7 separate regions of the Homo sapiens genome follow, and all the other regions are linked to region 5. The links are contacts of gene promoters, found by promoter capture Hi-C in blood cells and fetal thymus (Javierre and others, 2016). All regions are on one chromosome and are shown on one strand. The core of a region is centred on a gene start or on the middle of the fragment in contact, and the rest is flanking DNA. Distances in the headings are between cores, read along the strand shown. Region 1 overlaps AKAP1 (A-kinase anchoring protein 1). Region 2 has its middle 59 kb from the start of AKAP1. Region 3 has its middle 76 kb from the start of AKAP1. Region 4 has its middle 57 kb from the start of MSI2. Region 5 holds the start of CCDC182 (coiled-coil domain containing 182). Region 6 has its middle 74 kb from the start of MSI2. Region 7 overlaps AKAP1 (A-kinase anchoring protein 1).

Region 1 (3,408 bases), core at 43-2,542, 630 kb before region 5:
GACTATAGCTCCAAGGAAATTGTCCTCCTTCGTGTTTTTTTTTTGTTTTTTTGTTTTTTTATGGATGGTAGGCATTTCAGTTTTGTGTCTTCCCCTTTGCAAAGGCCCTTGGGCTGGAGGGAAAGGATTGGGATATCTTTTTCCTGTGGATATGTGAGAGTAGGCTGAATACCACTTTATGCTTTACTCCTGAATCAAGAGTTTTTTCCCAGGAGGCTCGGTCGTAGACTCACTCTCTTTTTTTTTTTTTTTTTTTTTTTTTTGAGACAGAGTCTCACTCTGTTGCCCAGTCTGGAGTGTAGTGGCATGATCTTGGCTCACTGCAACCTCTGCCCACCAGGTTCAAACGATTATCCTGCCCCAGCCTCCTGAGTAGCTGGGATTACAGGTGTGCTCCACCATGCCCAGCTAATTTGTATGTTTTTAGTAGAGATGGGATTTCACCATGTTTGCCAGGCTGGTCTTGAACTCCTGACCTCAGGAGGGTAAGCAGTAGGAGGGAGAGCAAATAGGAAGCAGACTCTGCTAGACCTTGACCATGGACCTGACCTGAGGCCACTGCTTGCTCTTGGGAGGGCAGCGTAGATGCTGTCAGACCATAGGCTCCTGGGGTTGTCTGCCAGTCCACAGGAGTTGGCTAAAGGGCCTGGGGCCTGCCTACTGCTTATTTTCAGGAGTCTTGTTCTCAGCGGCCACCTCATTCCTGTGTTGCCCTCCCTGGGTCTTATAGATTCATCAACAGAAGTGGGAGGGAGGGCACTGCTGGTAGGTGGACCCTGCCCAGGCCTGTGCAAGGCCCAGCACTACCTCCGCAGTTGCTTCTTGGTTGCCCAGTGTCTGTGGGACCCTCCCTGCCTGGCCCTGAGGTGAGACTGCCCCTAATGGCTGCTCGTGGTATTGCAGGACAACAGCCACAGGGGTGTCGAACACTTTCTGTTGTTAAAGTAGTCCTTCAACCTCTACCTTCTGGGTGCCATGTTGTCTTGAGTTGCCCTTTTCAAAGATATGCTAGCCCAGAGACTTGCCCTTGGGTCTCGGGACTTATTCAAAGATGAGATAAGAAGGATTGTTTCAGTGACCGCTCCCCCTTCCCCTCTACAGCTCATGCTGCCTGATGGCATCACCGTGGAGGTCATTGTGGTCAACCAGGTCAATGCCGGGCACCTGTTCGTGCAGCAGCACACACACCCTACCTTCCACGCGCTGCGCAGCCTCGACCAGCAGATGTACCTCTGTTACTCTCAGCCTGGAATCCCCACCTTGCCCACCCCAGTGGAAAGTAAGCAGTGCCCTGAGGGGTCGGGAAGGGGGACCCCTGGGGTTGCCTGTTCTGCCCTGGATCCTGATCAGGAGGAGGCTGTTCTGCGATCCTTCATGGAAGCAGCATCCTTCAATTCTTGCCATTGTTATGGAGCTGGGGTGGGTTTCCTGGCAAGGCAGAGCTGGGGTTTCCACTGGCTGGCAGAGTGATGGGTGTTGGAGTAGAGTTTTGACACAGGGATTCAGATCCCAGCTCTGCCACTAATTTTTTTTTTTAATTTTTTCTTTTTTTTTTCCCTCAAAGCCAGTGTCATAGTATCTGCCACCTATTTATTATCTGTTAAAGGGGGTGATACCCACTTGTTCCAGGAATTAGTGTTGAATACTGTATGTATTACATATAAAGCACTTATGCATATAATGGTTACCACAAAAAAATCCCCAAGTCCAACAAGCCTGTGCAGCGTGTTGGGTCATCTCCATTTAACAGATGAGAAAACTGGGCCTCAGGTGACTTGCCCAAGTGAGCAGGATCTGGGGTCTGAGCCCAGCCTTTGTCATTATTATCTTTGTTGTCCTTATCACAGAGGATGGAATGTCAGAACATCACCCATTCCTCACCAGGGGATGGCAGGGTCACTCAGTGCAGTAGAAAACCTTCTGAAGTGATCTCTGTAGCCTTTTGTGTGGATTTTTTCCTTTTGGAAGGATAAGGACTTAGTTTTCATTGGCTTCTCTAAAGTTGCCTTAACCCAGCAGTAAAGACTGAACTGGAGCCTGAGGGGTAACTGCCAGGGGTTCTCTCCAAGGGTCAGGACCCAGCACAGTCAGCCTCATGTCACAGGTCCTCATCCTGGCCAGCGTGGGCAGCTGTTGGGGTGCTGCTGGGAACGTTTACCTCCTGGTCTCGTCTGCCTCTGACCCACAGTGGGTTAGTGACTCCTTGATCCTGGGTGGCTGCCCAGGTGCTGTCAGCACCTTCCAGAGGCAAAGGCTAGAAGAAGGGGGTTTAGGCCCAGGAGGCCCCTTCTGGTCAAGCTCTCCAGCTGAGTTGTGGGCTGGAGCACACCCTAGGTATGAGGATGCTGAGATCTGCTGCACTTGATTTCTTCAGGGACTTTCTTTTAAATGTAAGGCTGGCCCTGGCCCCCATTCCCCGAGTGCTATATTTACTTGGTTTATTCCTATTCATCTGTGTCCCTCTTGGGTCCCAGAAGTTTTGGAGTAATGGATCTAGACTGAATGCTTCTCAGTCTGGATGGCCTCGGGGGCGGCACACTTGCTAGGCTGAACTTCTCACATCCAGGTTTTTCCCTCGGCTGGTCTTGGGCTTGGGGGAGGCTTTGCTTGGGGCCGGTTGCTGTTCCTGTCCCCTGCACTGTGGAGGTTGCAGGCCTCTGAGAGGTAACGCAGGGAGGTGGGTAGTGGCCAGGTGGCCCTTGGTGCCCTGCCCTGGCCCAGGCGTTCCACGCACTCTGCTCCCTACCCTGCAGTAACGGTCATCTGTGCCGCCCCTGGTGCGGACGGGGCCTGGTGGCGAGCCCAAGTGGTTGCCTCCTACGAGGAGACCAACGAAGTGGAGATTCGATACGTGGACTACGGCGGATATAAGAGGGTGAAAGTAGACGTGCTCCGGCAAATCAGGTGAGCGGAGATGCCTCAGGCAGGCCTACGCCCTGCTTGTTCTGGGATGCGTGATCTCTGCGTGGCTGGCTCAGTTGTGCCAGGGCTTGGGTGAGGGTTACTTCTTCCCTCCTGCTGCCTACTGTGTTTTAGCAGAGTCTGATAGAAACAAACTCGATTACTCGCTTAGCCAAACTGAGCTAGAAGGCCTGTATTGTGGAAGAATCCCCAGCATCATCCTTCAAAAGTGAAGCTGGGCCAGGCGTGGTGGCCTGCTGCAAATCCCAGCGCTTTGGGAGGGTCACTTGAGTGCAGGAGTTCAAGACCAGACCGGGCAGTATAGCGAGACCTCATCTCTACAACATCAACAAAAAAGGAAAAAAGTGAAGCAGGCTCCTTTTTAGGAATTTGTCATAGGAAGTCCCTCTGAGGTCAGGCTTGCAGCAGGGTCGGCTGGCTGTGTTTGGGTGTGCTGTGAGCCGTGGCCTCCTGCAAAGTACGAACCCTCTGCTTTGCTGCATCCCA
Region 2 (3,356 bases), core at 367-2,866, 600 kb before region 5:
TTATTCAATAGATATCTATTAAACATAAACATGTTCCAGGCATTGATTAGGCACTGGGGATATATCAGTGAACAAAACAATAAAAAACTACTGCCTTTATGGAGCACACCATTATCCCAATTTTACACTGAAGGAGGCTGAAGCCCAGAGAGGCTAAGTGCCTTTTCCAAGTCCACACAGTGAGTATAGAGAAAAAGCATTCGGGTTGCTTTGTCTGATGACACACAAAATTCTCCCACACTGTCTGGGAACTGTTCCTGCCCACACCCAGTTCATTGAATGCTTCCTGCAGCAGCTGCTCTGGGTTCGTGACCCTGCTCCTGACCCTTGAGCCACACGGGGAACTTGGATTCCATTCCTTGTACTTGGGACCAGAGAAAGTACAAAGTCAGCTCGTGGAAACTGTAAGAGGCAAAACTTGGGAGCTGGTGGCTGCCATGTTTTCTTCCATATGGAGAATGATAATCTGGAGCAAGAGGGAAGAATGGAGCTAAGGACCAGAGAAAGGCAGAGATGCATAAGAGAGAAGCATCTGTAGCCATTTTGAGACCCAGCCCCATGCCTCTCCTTGAGTTCCTGGAGACACCCAATATCCTTATAACAAGCTTCCCTTTTTTGCTTAAACTTGCAACCAAAGGAATCCTAGTTAATACCGTGGGATATGGCAAGTACCTAGCGAGTGACTGCTGTAAGATTCTTTGAGCTCTTGCCACACCCTAGACTTGCTGTTTTGGCTTCTGGAGCTGAGAGTGTCCTGCTCTTAGATAACTTTGCAATAGATTCACTACTTCAGAGCATGTGACTGCAACCTAACTCTTAATAAATCAGACAGGAGCTTTCTGCATGGAAAAGAGCTTCTGCCATACATCATTTTTGTTTTCCTCTTGGGGAGAACAGCTATGCTACAGCAATAACCTGCCACGTATACATCTCAAAGCCCTATTTATATAGCCATATGGATAAATATATATAAATAGGACTCGGGAATAATAGATTAAAGGATCTGCTCATCCGTAGAAGACTTTATGGGGCTTTCAGGACCTAATGGTGGCCTGATTCAGTAAGAAAAATGGGTCTCTAGTAGGATGTGGCCAATAATTAGATGAGTCCATAACCTGACAGATGCTCACCTGGGAGATAGAGAGGTCGGGGGACCTTGTGAGGGGCCAGGGACTCCAACAGAATAAGCTGTAAGCGGGAACAGGAAGGGAACGGATGTGCAAAGTCATGAACTCTGAGCTGTCTTCCTAGCTCAGCTCCTGTTCTGTGTGACCTTGAGCAGGTCACTTGCCTTCTCTGAGCTTTAGTTCCTCATCTATAAATGAGGAATGTGGACGTGCTGACCTACAAGATTCTTTTTTTTTTTTTTTTTTTTTTGAGATTGAGTCTCACTCTGTGTCCCAGGCTGCAGTGCAGTGGCTCACTGCAGCCTCGACCTCCTGGGCTCAGGTGATCCTCCCACCTAAGCCTCCTGAGTAACTGGGACTACAGGCATGTGCCACCATGCCTGTCTAATTTTTGCATTTTTTTTTTCAGTAGAGACAGGGCTTTGCCATGTTACTCAGGCTAGTTTTGAACTCCTGGGCTCAAGCAATCTGCCTGCCTCGTACTCCCAAAGTGTTGGGATTATAGGCGTGAGCCACTGCGCCCAGCTGGTTCTTTTCTTCTCTGACATTAAAATGACTCTGAGGCCTATGATCATGGTCCTCTGGGTGGGGAAGGTTGGGAAGATCTCATCTGAGTTTAGCTTATCCCTAGGCCTTGACCAATCGCTGATGCTCCTTAAGGGTCTCCTACATTTTGGAGGCATATGCAGAAGGAACCTGAAGTCACAAGATCAGAGGTCCTGCGGCAGTTTAAATAACAATAGCAACAACTGCTACGACTACTTCTCCCATTATTCAGCACAACTGCAGCTGGGGGATTTAGGTTCATGGTCTGCAGCTAACATTTATTGCGGACTTACTCTGGGCCAGGCACCATTCCTTACGCTTTATGTATATTATCCTGCTTCACCCTCCCAACGACCCCAGGAGGTAGGTACTGTAGCTTCTACAGGAGGTAGAAGCAGAAGCACAGAAGCCTAGTGTGTGTCCCAGGCCACACAACCGGTAAGTGAGATTGTTAAGATGCCCCCGGGAGTCTGTCTCCAGAATCTGTGTTCCTCATCACTCCTGCATACTCCCCATTTACAAGGGCAGAAACTGAGGCTACAGGAGGTTAATTGATCTGTGAACAGCCAGGATCCTGGGAGTTCTCAGACCTGTCCATTTTGTGAGAAGGGAAAAAGTCTCGCTGCTCCTTGTGTTTCTTTCTGTTTTTCCAAGTCAGTCCATTTTTTTTCTTGTAACAAAAGTCTATTTACGGAAGAGACATATAGGACCCAAGATAACCATGCATCAGTCATGCTTCAGTGAACTCCCAAATCAAAGATGGGCTGGATAACGTGTACCCGACGCTCTTGGCTTTTTCAGCATTTCAGACGTTTTTGTTGTTGTTCCCTCTGTGGGTTGAAACCAGGCTTTTGTGACTTGATGAGGACACATTTTTCCTGGGGTGTAATAATGCCACTGGTGTTAGCCCTAATGCTGAAGAGAGAACATTTGCTATTTTGGAAGAGTTAATCCCAAAGCTTCTTTCTTTTGCTCCTGCCTTTAGAAAAGGCATTTCTGAGGCAGGTCCAGGCAAGAGTACTGCCTCTGTAATCCGCCCTCAATCATCTTAGCGCTAATCACCGAGCTTCATTGAGTACTTTGTAATGTGCCAAGCTGGGAGCTGAAGGCTGATTTGATTCTCTTAACATCTTCTGAACGGGTATAGCTGTTACCCCCATATTACAGATAGGGCACTGAGGCATGGAGCTTAAATGGCTTGACCAAGATGCCCCGGCAGCAAGGGGCAGAGCTGGGAATAGAACCCCGACTCCAGACATAGGCTATTAATGCCACAGTCTGCTACTCCAGGACTGACCATTACGTTTGTGGGGAGTGGGAGGGGAATGAAACTGCAGGGCCTCTTGTTCAACAAAGATTAAGACTTTAAGACTGCTGGGTGCAGTGGCTGAAGCAGTTTGGGATGCTGAGGTGGGAGGATCGCTTGAGCCCAGGAGTTCAAGACCAGCCTGGGTAACATAATGAGACCTCCGTCTCTATCTTTTAAATATAAAAAACTAAAAAATTAAAAATAAAAATAATGTAGGCCGGGCATGGTGGCTCACGCCTGTAATCCTAGCACTTTGAGAGGCCAAGGCAGGTGGATCACCTGAGGTCAAGAGTTCAAGACCAGCCTGGTCAACATGGCGAAACCCCGTCTCTACTAAAAATACAAAACTTAGCCAGGTGTGGTGGCACATGCCT
Region 3 (3,154 bases), core at 263-2,762, 580 kb before region 5:
TTGCCTGTAATCCCAGCTACTCAGGAGCCTGGGGAAGGAGAATCACTTGACCCCAGGGGACAGAGGCTGCAGCGAGCCGAGATTGTGCCACACACTCTGGCCTGGGTGACACAGCAAGACTCCATCTCAAAAAAAAAAAAAAAAAAAGGTGGGGCGCAGTGGCTCACGCCTGTAATCCCAGCACTCTGGGAGGCCGAGGTGGGTGGATCACGAGGTCAGGAGATCGAGACCATCCTGGGTAACATGGTGAAATCCCGTCTCTACTAAAAAAAATTAGCCGAGCGTGGTGGTGGGCGCCTGTAGTCCCAGCTACTTGGGAGGCTGAGACAGGAGAATGGCGTGAACCCAGGAGGCGGAGCTTGCAGTGAGCTGAGATAGCACCACTGCACACCAGCCTGGGTGAGACTGTCTCAAAAAAAAAAAAAAAACAGAAGAAATGGAGGTAAAATTTACATAACATAAAAATCACCATTTTAACCACTTTCAAGTATTGAGTTTAGTTTTTTTTTTTTTAGCATAATGCCATGTAACCATCACCATGATCTAATCTCTGAACATATTTATTACGCCTGAAAGAAACCCCATACCCGCTCCTCATTCTCTTACCCCTAGCTCCTGGCAAACAATAATCTACTTTCTATCTCTCTGGATTTGCCCATGGACATTTCATATAAATGGAATCATGCAATATGTGGCCTTTTCTTTCTGGCTTCTTTCACTTAGCATAATGTTTTCAAGGTTCATCCATGTTGTAGCATGTATTAATACGTCATTGCTTTTTATGGCTGAATAATGTTCCATTGTATGGATATACTAAATTTTGTTTATCCATTCATCAGTTGATGGGCATAGGGGTTGTTACCACATTTTGGCTATTGTGAGTAGTGTGCCTATGAACACCTGTGTACAAATTTTTGTTTGAACACTTGTTTCAATTATTTTCAGATATACAGCTAGGAGGTGAATTGCTGAGTCATGCGGTAATTCTACGTTTAACTTTTCGAGGAACTGCCACATGTTTTTCACAGTGGCTGAACCATTATACATTCCTACCAGCAATTTATTAGGGTTGCAATTTCTCCACATTCTCACCAACACTTGTCATTGTTTGTCTTTTTTATTATAGCCATCCTTGTGTGTGTGAAGTGATATCTCATTGTAGTTTTAATTTTCATTTCCCTGATGGCTAGTGATGCTGAGCATCTTTTTTATATGCTTGTTGGCCATTTATATATGCTCTTTGGAGAAATGTCTATTCAAGTTCTTTGTTCATTTTTCATTGGGTTGGTTGTTTTTGTTTTGTTTTCCTTCTTACAGATAGGATCTTGGTTTGTCACCCAGGCTGGAGTGCAGTGGCACAATCATAGCTCACTGCAGCTTCAAACTCCTGGGCTGAAGTGATTTTCCCGACTTGTCCTCCCAGGTAGCTGGGACTAGAGGTACACGCCACCATGCCCAGCTAATTTCTAAGTTTTTTGTAGAGACAGGGTCTCGCTTTGTTGCCCAGGCTTGTCTCCCACTCCTGGTTTCAAGTGATCCTCAAGCCTCAGCCTCCTAGAGCACTGAGATTACAGAAGTGAGCCACTGTGTCTGGCCTGTTTGTCTTTTTGTTGTTGACTTGTAAGAGGTCTTTATATATTCTGGATTCTTTATATGTTCTGGACTCATATCTATGATTTGTAAATATTTTCTCCCATTCTGTAGACTATCTTTTCAATTTCTTGACAGTGTTCTTTGAGGCACAAAAGTTTTAAATTTTGATGAAATCCAATTTATCTATGTTTTCTTTTGTTGTTTGTGCTTTTGGGGTTCTAGCTAGGAAAATTTTGCCTAATCCAAGGTCACAAAAATTTACACCTATGTTCTATTCTAAGAACTGGGTTCTTACATTTAGGTCTTGGATCCATTTTGAATTAATGTTTGTTTGTGGTATGAGGTGGGGACCCAGCTTTATTTTTTTGCATGTGGATATCTAGTTGTCTTGGCAACATTTATTGGAAAGACTATTCTTTCACCATTACATGGTCTTGGCAGTCTTGCCAAAAATCAATTGACAATAGATGTGTGGGTTTATTTCTGAACTCTCAATTCTATTTTTACCATTTATCCTTATGCTAGTATCACACTGGTTAGATTACTATAGCTTTGTAATATAGTTGTGTCCAATGTAGTTGTGTCACACCCCCACCTCCCCCAGCCCCCATTTAATTGCCCTGGCTAGAACCTCTAGTACAATGCCAAATAGAAATGGCAAGAGTGGAAGTGCTTGTCTACTTCCTGATCTTTAAGGGGAACGCCTTCAGTCTTTTGCCATTAAGTATGATGATGGTGGAGGCACTTTCATAGATGCCCTTATCAAGGTTGATGAAGGTTTCCTTCTTGTAGAGTATTTTCATTATGAAAGGGTGTTGAATTTTTTTAAGTATTTCTTCTGTGTCTATTAACATGGTCATATATTTTTTTCTTATTCTATTAATATATGAGATTTTTTTTCTTCTCGACACCAAATACATGGTATCTTTTCCAATACCACTTCTCAAGTTCTTTGACGCCAACTGCATGGCCAATAATCCAATTCAATTCTGATATGAACTATCCAAAGTTAGCCCAGACCCTAGAGGTTAAAGTCTCAGTCCCATAAGACTGCTCCCACTTCAGACACCAGCCATAAATGGAGTGACCAGGATACTCAAATTTCTTCCCCGCCGACTACAATTTTGGGAGTTCCAATCACCCCTCCCCAGGTTCAATAGTTGAATAGAATGACTCTCAGAACTCAGGAAAACACTATTTCCAGTTTGTTATAAAATATGCAACTCAGGAATAGCCAAATGGAAGACATGCATTGGGCAAGATACATGATTAAAAAACTCAGTAAATATTGATTGCATTAATGACATAAATGCCACTGCCTAACAACAGAGTATTTCTGAATATTTTAGTTGTGTATGTGTGGTTAATTGGTGGTGGTGGTGTTTCTACAGCATCTAAGGTGAATTGCCCCTAGTCATCACCGTCCTATATCTCAGTGTACCTGACTTGTCACAACCTCTTAGAAATGGCTGTCCAGGGGTTCATACAGGTGAGTCTTTCCTGGAGTCAAACCAGAGCTGACAACTATACATAAATCCTGTGACCTTGACCATTTTAACAT
Region 4 (3,308 bases), core at 360-2,859, 550 kb before region 5:
AAAAAAGAAGTTTCTTCTTACTGAAAAGTCAATGTGGCAATTATTGCTGGTTACTTACCCAATAGCTGTTCCTTACTGCCCCCACACACTTTGCTTTCTTCCAGGCTAACAGAACCCTAATTTGGTTTCAGTACAAGTAGCAATGCGTTTTGGCAAGATAGGACCCTCCATTTCCCCAGAGAATGAACTGTGACTGGTCCAAGGTAACCACTGTACTCCCTTTTTCCTGTGGTAATGACTGGTTTCAGGGTGGACATGTGACCTAATTCTGGCCAATAATACTAAGAGGGAGTCTGCCAGGGGCTTCTGGGAAAGATTTCTTCTTGATAAAAAAGAGAGGTGAACTAAGAGAATCCTTCATCCCTTCCTTCCTGCTTTTAGACTTTATTTCTAGATGAAGAAAAGTGATGTTTGGAGATGTCGCAGCCATCTCATCACCACAAAGGGAGGGCTAAGAGAATCTCTCAGAAATGGACCCGAGCCCTGACATTGTGATGCTGAGCCAGCCTGGAACCAGGGATGGAGTGTAGCCGGAAGTATGATCCAGCAGCAATGGTTGTTTAAGGCTAGGCTTTATTCTGACTGGTCAGGCTTCGGTTCTCATTTGTCAATGTCTGGGACAGATTGGTTGTTAAGTATTTCGAATACCCCTTGGTTGGAATCAGTGCCTCTGGATTTATTGGTATGTAATGAAAATAAACACTTTTTTAAAAAGCACTTAACTGGATATTCAGTTACTTGCAGCCAAAAGCTTTCTAACTACATAGTTTGGGTTCACAGAACCCAGTCACATCTGAACTGCATCTGTGGGGACTTCACTTGCACAGCTTTGGGGGACTGCAGCCCTGTTAGCATCTATCTCATTCCTTCCTCACCACCACTCCCGCCCCCTACCCATTGTTAGGTAGCAATAATGTCTTTCTGTGTTTATTTTTTATATCAGGTGGTGGTGGGAGGGTAAAGGCAAACTGTCTAATATCTGTGGCCTGGAAGAGAAAGCTATTGTAGCTCTATCAGTGTACTGTATCTGCTCTTCATGGAAGAGTCGAGATAGAAATTTATCCTCTCTGGCAGAATGTAGGAGATTTAGCTAACTTCTACCTAATCTATCCATTTGCTCTTTTGCTATACCATTTGATTAGCCATATTGATAATGTCTTTTTTAGGAATGAGGCTTGGGTAGCCATCAGTCAACCAGTCAACCAATCAATCTTGTTGATGCATGCCATCGGTAACAAGAGAAGACTTCAGGGAGAGGGTCTAGGGGCACACTCGCTGCTTTGCATTGTAATTTTTTTTTCTGTGTCCATCTTCCCTGTTAGACTATGAGCAATTTAATGGCAAGAACGGTATCTTCAATCTCTGTATTCCTAGGTTTAGCACAGTATCTGGCCCATACAGGGTGCTTAATAGATGATTTGTTGAAAGAAAAAAAATAATGAATCACATATGAAATTATTTTAAAATGCACGTTCTACCAAGACAAGATGATTTTTATGGACACAGAAACACCTTCCTATGTGGCCAGCTTAAAAAAAGTTCTAATTAGGGATATTGGAATATCTTATCCCATTTTAAAACCAACACATTCAGAAATACAATCAAAGGGAATCAGCCTATCTTTCCACATGCTTTTTGTGGCACAGTTTGTGCCTAGAAAGCCTTTTTTTAATGGGAAAGATGATGTTTCTTAAAGCATCTCCTACTAAATATGGTGACAAGAAATGGAAATATCATTCTCAGGGTTAAAAAAGATTTTTCATGAATTCACTAAGTAGTGTGTTTGAACTAACTTTAAAAGCTGACTTCGACAAACTAGATAAAATATACTTCTATCTCTGCTAACCATCTTTCAACATGTCAGCTCATCTGAGGCCTCCCTGAGATCCATGAGAGACAGCGTGTAAGCTGTTCTTTAGATGGCCATCTAAAAACTCATCAAATAGCAAGGTATGAAAAACAAAATCACCTCCAAAACGTTCAAATTGCATTGATCTGTGGCATAAAACCCTCACCACAGGAAGAGAAATGATGGATTTGAGACCCGCAGGAGGATTCGTTTAAAGTGCTTTGTGTTGTATGTGTGTGTGTTTTATTTTAATTTATGTATGGAATTGCCCGGGAGTAGTAAATAGACTTTATTTGCTATATTTCGAGGAAGATAAAATTATCAGGACTGTCTATGTATTTCAAAGCCAAGAAAAACAAAAACAGCTTTGAAGCGTCTCCTGGATTTTTTTGTCCTAATCTTCTAAGAGATGGTCTTGATAATGTTTATTCTTTTCTTCTTTCTAAACTGATTGAAAGTACCATTTTTCTCAGTTAAAATAGCAATCTGATTCTTAACTAGGTCAGGTAAAGTACCCATTGAGCAGCACAGATTATTTAAACGATTGCAAAAGGGCAGGTAGGAATTTCTGAATAGCATTGCCACACTTCTTTCCAAATCTCTCTCCTCTCCTTCTCTCTAAGCTTGTGTGGCTCCCACCGGGAACACACCCTGGTCTTTGAAGGGTGGGTTTTTCATTTGAATTCATACCCACCATCTGGACAAGTTTTTCTGCTGCATTTCCCCTATAACCCAAAGAGTGAAGCCATTTTCCATCTGCTTGGAGATAATGTGTGGAGTTTTTCTTTCCATTGGTGGGCATGGGGAAGGAGATACGCACACTGTATTATAACGCAGCCAGTGATGATGGAGAGGCAGGGCTTTGGTTTAAATTTTACATACTCAGAAACATCCATTTCTGACAAAATCCCATCTTGTGAATCCCCCATAGCCTGGAGGAGCAATTGGCAAACTTTTTCTGTAAAGGGCCAGATAGTAAATATCTTAGGCTTTGTAGGACATTTGGTCTCTGTTGAAACTGCTCAACTCTGCACAAAAGTGGCCGTAAACAATATGGATTTGAATAGGCATGCCTGTGTTCAGTAAAGCTATGTACAGAACCAGACAGTGGGTCCTGGTCCCTGGCTCAGAGCATCTCTCCATGCTTCATGTTGGAGGCCCACATCTTGGTTTTCTGCAAGGTGGCATTCTATCTGCTCTCGTGAGGAGGGGGTGAGCCCAGCAATGGCTCAGATCCACTTAGGCAAGACCATACCGCCACCCTACCTGTGTCCCAGGACACACTTGTGCCCAGTGGAGACCTGGTGAGCATTATAGGGTGTAAACCCTCAAATTAATGAGCTTGCCAGCTGCCCTTGTTAAGGCCCTGAGTGTCCCATCTCAGTCACGGTGACCATCTTCTCCCTCATCACATATTTCATTCTTTGGCCTCTTCTCCACACTCTCAACTAGGGCTATC
Region 5 (3,327 bases), core at 267-2,766:
GTGACAACCTCAGCCTTCCAGAAGAACACGTCCATGAACAGCCTGAAGTGGTTCCAAAACTGGGGAGCAGAGAAGGATGCAGCAGGATGCAAATGAGCACAGCTGACCTGGACTTAAACCATGGCCCTGCCACTTACTAGTGTGCAGACCTTGGGTACTGGACTTGCCTTCCTGCGGCCAGTCTCCCAGTGTGAACCATGGAAAATCAACACTCACCTCCAAGGTGCCTATGGAAGTAAGTGGGATGGTATGTGTGTGTTGCCTGATAAATGGCCAGGCACTGTGACAATAATTCCTGCTCCATGGATCGAACACAGAAATCAGTTTCCCCACTTCCTAGTGCCATCTCAGAGGTGTTGCATTATCGGTTGCTAAAGCTCAGCGAGTTCCACCCACACAGTCCCAATAAGCTCTGTCATTCCGATTGGCCAGTCTGCAGTCTAAATGGAAAGGAAGTAGAGGTAGAAAGAGGCAGCAAAGAAAAGTGAGATGTGACAGTCTAAGAGTAGAGGCAGACAGAAAGACCATACAGACAAGGGTTAGAATACTAAAAACAGAGCAATCTGGGGTAGTGTTAGTGCACGGGCAAGCAGTCCGACCCCTCTGGGGAGATCATGTGTTACGTGATGTGGTATCAGTTGACCAGGTGTTAAGTCTCAAATCATGAAAGCCTCAAATCATTCAAAAAAAAAAAGGTGAATGTTCAACACAATCAGTTTAAGAATATACTATACAAATAAAGAGGTATACATTGAGCAATAGTACCATTACAAACAGGAAAACAGTTCAAGTGAAAGTTACAGGGGCCTGACTCAGTACTGGGGTGCCTCCTTCCTTTAGAATGCTGGATAAATGGAATTTCACCAAAAAAAATATTGAAGTCTTTTTGCCTCTCAGCAAGGTGTTATTTAGGCAGAAGGAAAGCAATGGAAATGAGGAAGGGAAAGCAAGGGGGTAGGGACTTGGGGTTTCTCCTTCCGTTAAAAAAAATCTTCAACTTGGTGCTTGGCTAGTGCCACCCACGAGGTTCAGTCAGCCTGGCTCTTCTTGGTGGCACGCAGGGCGTCACGTCCCCTGTCCAGCAGCAGGTCCTCCAGCCGCTTGCAGTGCTCCCGGAGCTGTTTCTCGCGCGGCAACAGGAAGGTGAGAACCTTGTTGCGCACGATGCCACGGTCCTCCTCCTCCCTTAGCCGCTGCCTCACGCGAGCCGCCTGCTCCTCCTGTTGCACCAGGGCTCCATTCATCTCGCAGAAGGCGTCTTCAAGGTAATGAATGGACTTCAATGCCTCTTTCTTAAAGTCCTCCAGTTCCCGTTGCACCCCGGCCACCTTCTGCTGCAGGATCTCCAAGTCAGCGGGTGGTGGGAGGCAGGAGGGCCATGACTGGGACAGGGAAAAGTCTCCAGACTGGAGGCCACTCTCTATCATTTTTTTCCCCTGTAGGGTATTCACCGTCATGAGAATGGACCCAGCCTGGTAGAGGGGTTCCATTGTCTCTTCTACGTTGGACAAAGAGAGGAAGCCAAGAGACCAACCAGGTCAATAAATATTTTTGGCTAGAGACACGATCATTCGGAGTGGAGAAACCCTAGAATTGTGACATCAGGGCCCCTTCAGCCAACCAGAAAGAAAGCCACAATCCATTCATTTGCATATTGTAGCTTCCTTGGTTGGTTACCTAGAGCTTTGTCTGTTTATCTGACCAAGTCGCCCTCCTGAGATGTGGATCCTTAACTCATCACCCTTCTAGAACCAGAACTCAAGTTCTTCTTTAACCTAAGGAACAAACCAAGTCCCAGAGCAGGGAAGTAAACTGGCCAGAGCAAGGCAGGCCAGGCCAGGCTCACTGGCTGCCAGGACTGGGTGGTCTCCCACACTGGCAAGGGACCTGCATGGTCTTGGACTGGTCTCTGGGCTTTAGTACCTCACTAGTAAAACAAAGACATTGTAAGAGATGATACCTAATCCCACTTGTAGCTCTAAAATGCTAAAAAGTAATCTCTTATTCCAAGTCCATACTCCTATAATGATGTCAGAATTCTATAAAATCTTAGAAATTGCGAAAAATGTACTTAGATTTTGATGTATGGTCCACAGCAATGGCTGATTCAGCAGGTGCAAGGTAAAAATGGGTTAGTCATATTTATTCAATAAATACTAAGTGCTCACTACACACTAGGATCAGGGAACAAGTGAGTGCATGGTCTTCCAACATACCTGAATGTTAACAAATATGAGAAACAACACATAGAAAGGTAAATCTTGTACTTTTTACCTGATAATTAGAACAAAGGAAAATACTTCTAGCTAATCTACATTTGGTTTAGTCAGGAACAAACCTTCATCTTGCACATCTCAGTCTCTTGCCTAGACTTCTCTCCTGGTCTCCAAATCTAAACGTCTCCCCCACAATGGGCCTCCAATTCAAGCCATCCAAAGCTGAATTGGTGATCTCTTTACCCAAACCAGTTCCTGTTCCAGTGTTGCTGTCAGATTAATGAGAGCAACCCAGAACAGCACACACACCAGAGCCCTCATGAGACAACTGGTGCTGTGATGCTAATATTTGTCCCCTCCCAAACTCATGTTGCAATTTAATTACCATTGTAACAGGATTATGAGGAAGGACCTTTAACAGATGATTAGGCTACCCTTTAAGAGATAAATGGATTAACACTGTTATCTTGGGAGCAGGTTCCTTATAAGTGGATAAGTTCAGCCCCTTTATGTCTCTCTCTCACCCTCTCTTTGCCCTTCTACTATGTGATGTCTTCTGCTGTGGAATGACACAGCAAGAAGGCCCTTGCCAGATGCCAGCATTTTGATTTTGGACTTCCTAGCCTCCAGAACTGTAAGGAAATACATTTCTGTTCTTTATAAATTACCCAGCATCGGGTATTTTACTATAGCAGCACACAATAGACTAAGAAACTTAGGATCAACCTAGACCCTTCCATGTCAAAGTGGCTCTAAGTCCTGTTCAATCTACCATTGCCAAGCACTCTAGCATCAAACCACCTGGGTTAGAGTCCCAGCTCTACTTATAATCTACCTATCTTTGGCAGATTACCCCATCTCCCTGAGCCTCAATCTTTTTTATAAGTAGGAATACTAATTCAGTGGTGTGCAGTTCTATGGGGAAAAGTGAATAAAACTCCGAATTATTTTGATAGCTGTTGCCAATTTCCATGGTGTAAATACTCCCACCGTGGCCAGTTTCAAGCTACCAACATGATGTCACTGGGAAGAGATGCACAAAATCAGCTCTCATGAGCCTCTGCAAGCTGACTCTCGCACCACAGGGACCGTGATGAGGGCAGCTGCCTCC
Region 6 (3,146 bases), core at 161-2,660, 560 kb before region 5:
GATTTTTAAATATTAACCCTGCCTTGTATTCCTGGGATAAACCACATGTAGCCAGATGCATTTTTAAATGTAGTGATAGATTTAATTTGCCAATATTTTGTTTAGATTTTTAATTTGTTTCAGACAGGGTCTTGTCACCCAGGCTGAAGTGCAGTGGTGCAATGGTGTGATCACAGTTCACTGCAGCCTCCATTTCCCAGGCTTAAACAATCCTCCTACCTCAGCCTCCCAAGTAGCTGGGACTACAAATGTGCACCACCATGCCTGGCTAGTTTTTTTTTTTTTTTTTTAATTTTTAGTAGAGACAAGGTCTCAGTATGTTCCCCAGGCTGGTCTCAAACTCCTGAGCTCAAGCAACCCTCTTGCCTTGGCCTCCTAAAGTACTGGAATTATAGGCAGCAGCCACTGTGGCTGGCCTTTGTTTAGGATTTTTGTCTATGTCTATGTTCATAAATGATTTTGGTTTAAAATTTTCTTTTCCTTATAATGGCCTTGTGAGAATTTGATATCAGGTTTCTGCTGAGTTGGGTATTATTGGGTGTTATTTTATCTTCCTCAGTTCTCTGGAAACATTTGTATAACATTAGTATTATTTATTTTCAAAAATTTTAATAGGATTCACCAGTGAAGGCATATGGACCTGTAGTTTTCTCTTTTTTTTTGAGACGGAGTCTCACTCTGTCACCCAGGCTGGAGCGCAGTGGCGCCACCTCGGCTCACTGCAAGCTTCACCTCGCAGGTTCACGCCATTCTCCTGTCTCAGCCTCCCAAGTAGCTGGGACTACAGGTACCTGTCACCACACCCGGCTAATTTTTTTGTATTTTTAGTACAGACAGGGTTTCACCATGTTAGCCAGGATGTTCTCATCTCCTGACCTTGTGATCTGCCTGCCTCAGCCTCCCAAAGTGCTGGGATTACAGGCGTGAGCCACTGCACCCGGCCATGGACCTGTAGTTTTCTTTGTGAAAAGGTTTTAAATGATGAATTCAATTTGTTTTTGTTTTTGTTTTTGTTTTTGTTTTCAGATGGAGTTTCACTCTTTTCACTTAGGCTGGAGTGCAGTGGTGCAATCTTGGCTCACTGCAACCTCCGCCTCCCAGGTTCAAGTGATTCTCCTGCTTCAGCCTCCCGAGTAGCTGGGTTTACAAGTGTGCGCCAACACACTCAGCTAATTTTTGTATTTTTAGTAGAGATGGGGTTTCTCCATGTTGGCTAGGCTGGTCTTGAACTCCTGACCTCAGGTGATCTGCCCGCCTTGGTCTCCCAAAGTGCTGGGATTACAGGCGTGAGCCACCACACACAGCTGATGAATTCAATTTTTAACAAATATAGGATGATTCATATTTTTTATTCCTTCTTGGATCAGTTTCAAAAGTTTTCTTTTTCAAAAAATGTTTTCATTTCCTCTAAGTAATTGAATGTATTGTTGTAAGTTATAGTTAAGATGGACTAACAGGAACCAGATTTGCCCTTCTGCCTGGAGTGACTAAAAAAAATAATAATAAATAAATAAATAAAGTAGAATATCAGGCAACAATGGCTAATGACAGTTGAGGTTAGGGAGTCAAATAAGATGAGCTTCCTACAATTGCCCCAGCTCTTTGCCTAGAGACAGATTCCAGGCCTCAGAATAGGGAGGGAAAACCCACATGGAAGCCAGCAGTTTCCCTGAATTGAGGATATGGAGCTGGGATCCTGGGGAGGCCAAGGTAATTAGAGTTTATAGGACAGAGTATTAGGGAGAATAGAGCTTGGATAGGGGTGGGAGATCAGGAGGCGAGGGGAAAGGGAACTGGAGGAGGAGGGAGGGGAAGAGAGTTCTGGAGACATTTGGAGAACTCTCCTTGAGTCTTCAGCTAAATACCTGTCAGTGCGTGCATGTGAGAAAACCATGCAGAACTGAAGAAAGAACAACTGAAGAGCATCAGAGAGAACGACGCCCCAAACTTACGCAGGACTGGGAATAATTCCTGTTTCTGCCAGAATAGAAAGCCTCATGATTCAGAGAGAGTCCCCAGTTAGTGTCCTCAGAAGAGTTTTGCCTCAAATAATGGTACAAAATTAGCCCAAAATGCTGCTTTAGTCTCACCTGACAAAGCTTAATACCTGAAAGAATCAAACTGTCTCTAAGTAACTTAATCATATCACAGGACAAAGGCCAAGAACATAGAAAGAGAAAAATGGGTAGTAATTTTTCATTACATTCTTGGTATTGTGACTGATGTATCATAGCGACTCTGGATTTTAAAAATGTTTTTCTAAAGAGTGTTGAATTTTTTGGGGGTGGGGGCAGGTAGCTAAATTTTTGATGGGTCACCTCACTCTTGTTGAGGTTTGGTTTTAGTTTTTGTTAAGGTGGATCTATTTCAGTTTCACCCTTATTCCTAGGCCAAGCACCTGCTCCTAGGACATGGTCCTTATTTCTACAACGAGGTCTTTCTGGGGGGTCTCTACTGAAGGCCCTGTGTGTCTTGGCTCTGTCTGGGTCAGAATTCCAAAGACTTGCCAGTATTCTTTTTTTCTTTTTTTTTTTTTTTTTTTGAGACAGGGTCTTGCTCTGTTGCCCAGGCTGGGGTGCAGTGGTGCAATCTCAGCTCACTGCAACCTCTGCCACCCAGCTTCAAACAATTCTCTTGCCTCAGCCTCCCAAGTAGCTGGCATTAAAGGTGCCCACCACCACACCTGGCTAATTTTTGTATTTTTAGTAGAGATGGGGTTTCACCATGTTGTCCAGGCTGGTCTTGAACTCCTGGTCTCAAGTGATCCACCCACCTCGGCCTCCCAAGTGCTGGAATTCCAGGCATGAGCCACAGTGCCCGGGGATTTCAATCCTTGAAATCTCTGTTCAACTGTCAGCCCTTCGTCAGCTGTTCTCTACCAGACCTTGTGAATTACCACCCTGGGCACAAGCAGCTCAGGATTTGTCCAGGTGCTTGAAGGGAACCGCTTCACAGATTTCTGGGTTTCCTTTTCTGCAGTTCCCTCTGCTCCATAGCCCACAAGTTCCAGCCATCTTAGAGCCCTGAACTCTGATCTGTCTCCTCCACCAGGTCCCTGTTTTTTCTGCCCAGTGCAACACTACACCATGGTTGGGCTCCACTGCCTCCACTACGGCTTGGAAACCACCCTCCCAGGCAGAAAGCCA
Region 7 (3,351 bases), core at 409-2,908, 650 kb before region 5:
GAATCAAGTCTGGAAGCAGCTTCTGCTTATTAATTAAGAACTAAAGCCCCTTGGCTCTTCAGGCACATCGCTTTCCCCTCTGGAGAAAGTTTGGTGGACCGTGTCCCTTGGGGTTCTTGCGAGTCCGACTGGCCTTCCGCGCAGTGATGTTGGAGAGCCCTTTTTCTGAGAGCCATGCTCTGCCTCATCTTCACCTCCCCTCTTGCTACCTCTTGAGTCAGCCAAGCCTGTTCCTGCCTTAGGACTTTGGCACATGTTCTTCCTGCCTGGAACTTTCTCCCCGCTCTCCTCCTGCTTCCCCCCAGATCTTGGCACAGTTCTCAAGTGTTCCAGTTCTGATGCCACCTCTTCCAAGAGGCATTCCCGCCTCATTCTGTCTGCAGCTTCCCCTTCCAAGTGCTCCATCCAGCCTTTCTCATTTCAACCACAGCACACAGAAAAGGACTAGGTGACCGTTCCTCAACTCTCCCAGCTGGTGCCCTGCTACACGCACAGGGATATAGGTAATTCATCACATGCAAGGGCAGCCTTAGGGCTCAGTTCTCTCAATCAGTTGAGAGAGGCTGCAGGTCTTTATATTTAAGTCGCGGAATCTTTGCAGTATCTTACCTGTAATTTGACTCTCTACCCTTCCTTCCACCTTTGCTTCCTGAGGGATCTCTTTGCCTTATGTGCCCAGCGAACTTGGCTCACAGTGCGTGTTAAACTCTTTGTTAAATGACTGGCCCTGAGAGGTCCAGCCATCTGATGCTGGCTAGCCCTCAATGCCTTGCTTCCAGAGGGATCTAACCTGTCAATAAGCATGCTCTCTTTTTGATATTACTATTATGTCAGCTGGGCAGCTGGGGGTCTCTGAAGCAAAATTGGCATCAATTATTATAGGAAAATAAGGCCTTACAAGTTTGTACACAGATGAGTTGACATTAATGCAAATTTAGGATGGTTAATAAGAAACATAAAGCTGTGTGGTAATAGAGCATGCATTGCTACTTGTATGTATCTTAATAACGTGTTTTCTATCAAAACATTACTTGTAGAAAGGATTTGGCTTTTGACTGTGTACAAGGCTTGAAAGGACAGTCCTTTGCCCACTGCCCCCCACCCCCATTACTTTCAATTCTTCCAGCTGTCCCCACCATTGTCAGTAGTATTATTTTCTTTCTTTTTAAGGATTATTATCTGATTTGTTTTTCTGCTGTGGGAGATAGGATTTAGCTCGTTCCTATGCTTTTTTCTTCCCTCATCATCCCAGTGTAGAGATAGCCCAAGTTTTGGTCAAGTTGATCTTCAGAATATACATTATTATAATATGAACCTTGTTTATGGCTGCAAGGTTTTTAGTTTCCCATATTTCTTCTTTTCCTTCATTTTCTTCTTCTCCTCTCCTAGTTAATTTCCTTAGTTTCTTTTGCTTAATTTTCTGTCTCTCTCACCAGTTCCCTGACCACCTCGCAGCCTCCACCATTGCTGTGGAATGCCTGTCATTGGGGGAAAGTGGCTCTCACTGTGGCTCCACATACCAGGTACTCGCAACGGTTCCACGTTTCTCCTGGGCGCATCCCTTTTCCCTGGCTCTGCTTCCCCTTCAGCCTTGGAATTCCCTCTCCCCTTCTCTTGTCTCGTTTCTGGATCCAGTGCCCCTCCTTTCTTGGTTGATTTCCTTGTCTTGGGGGAGCCCATCGTTCAGTAGCTTGCTGAGAAGGTGTGCGTGGTTTGTGGCCCACAAGAAGCCAGCCGATCCATGCAGGGACAGGCACCTTTGAAGGCATGGATTGGGCCTTCAGTTGGGTGGCTGAAGTCAGCAGACAACTAGGCCTGTGGAGCCCTTCCGCCAGGCCAGGCCAGCAGAAGGTCTGGCTTCACTTTTTAGAGAAGTTATAAATGTGGCGATCTGGATTTGGGTACCAGGGAGTGGTGAAAATGGGTCCCCCCCAACTTTTTTTTTTTTTTTTTTTTTTTAAAGACAGGTCTCACTGTCCCCCAGGCTGGAGTGCAGTAATGCCATCATAGCTCACTGCAGCCTTGATTTCCTGGGCTCAAGTGATCCTCCCACCTCAGCCTGCTCAGTAGCTGGGACAAGAGGCATGTACTACTATGCCCGACTAATTCTTTTAAATTTTTTTTTGTAGAGATGAGGTCTCACCACATTGCCCAGGCTAGTCTCGAACTCCTGGGCTCAAGTAATCTTCCAACTTCCCAAAGTGTTGGGATTACAGGTGTGAGCCATCGTGCCTGGCTGAAGATGGGTCTTGAATGAAAGTCTATATATTGAATGGGGCATCCCAACTCTCCTTGGCTCCCATAATGCTGGCATTCAGGCTTATATTCTCTCATTCCTACCCCAAGATACTAGAACATTCTAGTCTGAGGACACTGGCACCCCATTTTCTGTTCCTCCTTCACCCCTAACAGGGCACTTCCATGTCCTATGGACAAAACTTTCAGTTGGTCAGTAGCAGAGAGTGGCAGTAACAGGCCCACTGGAGAAAAGGTCATTGCTTGTTTTTTGAGACAAGGTGTCACTCTGTTGCCCAGGTTGGAGTGCAGTGGTGCGATCTCGGCTCACTGCAACCTCTGCCTCCTGGGTTCAAGCAATTCTCCCACCTCAGCCTCTCGAGTAGTTGGGACTACAGGTGTGCGCCACTATGCCTGGGTAATTAAAAAAAAATTTTTTTTTTGTAGATACAAGGTCTCACTATATTGCCCAGGCTGGTCTTGAGCTCCTGGCCTCAAGCAATCCTCCCGAAGTGTTGGGGATTGTAGGCGTGAGCTACCGTGGTGGCCTGTTTGGGCTTTTTTTTTTTTTTTTTTTTTCTTCTGCCCTCCACTACTCCCCGCCAAGACTGAAAGTGCCTCGAGGGCAGTGCCTTGCCTGATTAATTTGTGTCCCACCATGCTTTTCTCTGTGAGTGCCAGTAATTATTTGTTGAATAGAAATTACCTTCTATGCTTTTATGTGATTTCTGGGGTGGTCGTAGTTCACTGTCTGCCATTAGGAAGATCAGGGTCTTACCTCTTTGGTTTTGCCCATGTGAGGTGCTGCGAAGGGTTTCTTGCTGCACACCAACATCTTTTCTGATGTCTTTACTGGCTTTTAAGTCAGGTTGTTGTCAGATTGCCATTTCATACTTTTTGGGCAGTTTTGTGTAATGTCTTCTGTGGTCGTGGGCGGGAACTCCATGTACCCAGGAAGGCATTCCTGGCACCTGTGTTGTGACCATCTTTAGAAACCTGGCGGAATTCACTTGTAAAGCAAGATGGTTGTCAAGGCCAGAGGTGAGGGGCAAGGTGAGTGTGACATAGTCTTCAAAGTTTTAAAATCCACACCCCTACCCCCAAAATGAAGTGATT

The links. The method cuts DNA at HindIII sites, captures the fragments that hold promoters and counts their contacts. A CHiCAGO score of 5 or more calls a contact.
Region 1: a fragment that was not itself captured here is called in contact with the fragment with the promoter of CCDC182 in region 5 in 9 of 17 cell types (erythroblasts, fetal thymus, megakaryocytes and 6 more); the score reaches 8.8 in erythroblasts.
Region 2: a contact is called between a fragment that was not itself captured here and the fragment with the promoter of CCDC182 in region 5, in 16 of 17 cell types (fetal thymus, megakaryocytes, erythroblasts and 13 more). The highest score is 17.8, in fetal thymus.
Region 3: a fragment that was not itself captured here is called in contact with the fragment with the promoter of CCDC182 in region 5 in 14 of 17 cell types (naive CD8 T cells, total CD4 T cells, erythroblasts and 11 more); the score reaches 10.5 in naive CD8 T cells.
Region 4: a fragment that was not itself captured here is called in contact with the fragment with the promoter of CCDC182 in region 5 in 5 of 17 cell types (total CD8 T cells, erythroblasts, naive CD8 T cells and 2 more); the score reaches 7.0 in total CD8 T cells.
Region 6: a fragment that was not itself captured here is called in contact with the fragment with the promoter of CCDC182 in region 5 in 4 of 17 cell types (total B cells, megakaryocytes, total CD8 T cells and 1 more); the score reaches 7.5 in total B cells.
Region 7: a contact is called between a fragment that was not itself captured here and the fragment with the promoter of CCDC182 in region 5, in 1 of 17 cell types (fetal thymus). The highest score is 5.9, in fetal thymus.

The regions. Positions count from the first base shown.
Region 1 is chr17:57,113,358-57,116,765 of GRCh38, forward strand. It overlaps AKAP1 (A-kinase anchoring protein 1), which reads left to right. Exons shown (of 11, transcript NM_003488.4): 6 at 1,102-1,279; 7 at 2,754-2,904. Among named protein-coding and RNA genes, the nearest start is that of AKAP1, 30 kb to the left of the region's middle. RefSeq lists a silencer at 711-1,005. The HindIII fragment of the contact is 9,490 bases long and covers 1-3,408 here.
Region 2 is chr17:57,142,846-57,146,201 of GRCh38, forward strand. No RefSeq gene overlaps it. Among named protein-coding and RNA genes, the nearest start is that of AKAP1, 59 kb to the left of the region's middle. The HindIII fragment of the contact is 2,027 bases long and covers 604-2,630 here.
Region 3 is chr17:57,159,837-57,162,990 of GRCh38, forward strand. No RefSeq gene overlaps it. Among named protein-coding and RNA genes, the nearest start is that of AKAP1, 76 kb to the left of the region's middle. The HindIII fragment of the contact is 6,765 bases long and covers 1-3,154 here.
Region 4 is chr17:57,197,605-57,200,912 of GRCh38, forward strand. No RefSeq gene overlaps it. Among named protein-coding and RNA genes, the nearest start is that of MSI2, 57 kb to the right of the region's middle. The HindIII fragment of the contact is 1,721 bases long and covers 750-2,470 here.
Region 5 is chr17:57,743,783-57,747,109 of GRCh38, forward strand. It overlaps CCDC182 (coiled-coil domain containing 182), which reads right to left and starts at 1,517. Exons shown (of 1, transcript NM_001282544.2): 1 at 713-1,517. The coding sequence starts at 1,490. The coding sequence ends at 1,029. The HindIII fragment of the contact is 19,296 bases long and covers 1-3,327 here.
Region 6 is chr17:57,181,317-57,184,462 of GRCh38, forward strand. No RefSeq gene overlaps it. Among named protein-coding and RNA genes, the nearest start is that of MSI2, 74 kb to the right of the region's middle. The HindIII fragment of the contact is 1,373 bases long and covers 725-2,097 here.
Region 7 is chr17:57,092,672-57,096,022 of GRCh38, forward strand. All of the region lies in intron 1 of AKAP1 (A-kinase anchoring protein 1), which reads left to right. Among named protein-coding and RNA genes, the nearest start is that of AKAP1, 9.1 kb to the left of the region's middle. RefSeq lists an enhancer at 213-712. The HindIII fragment of the contact is 4,020 bases long and covers 1-3,351 here.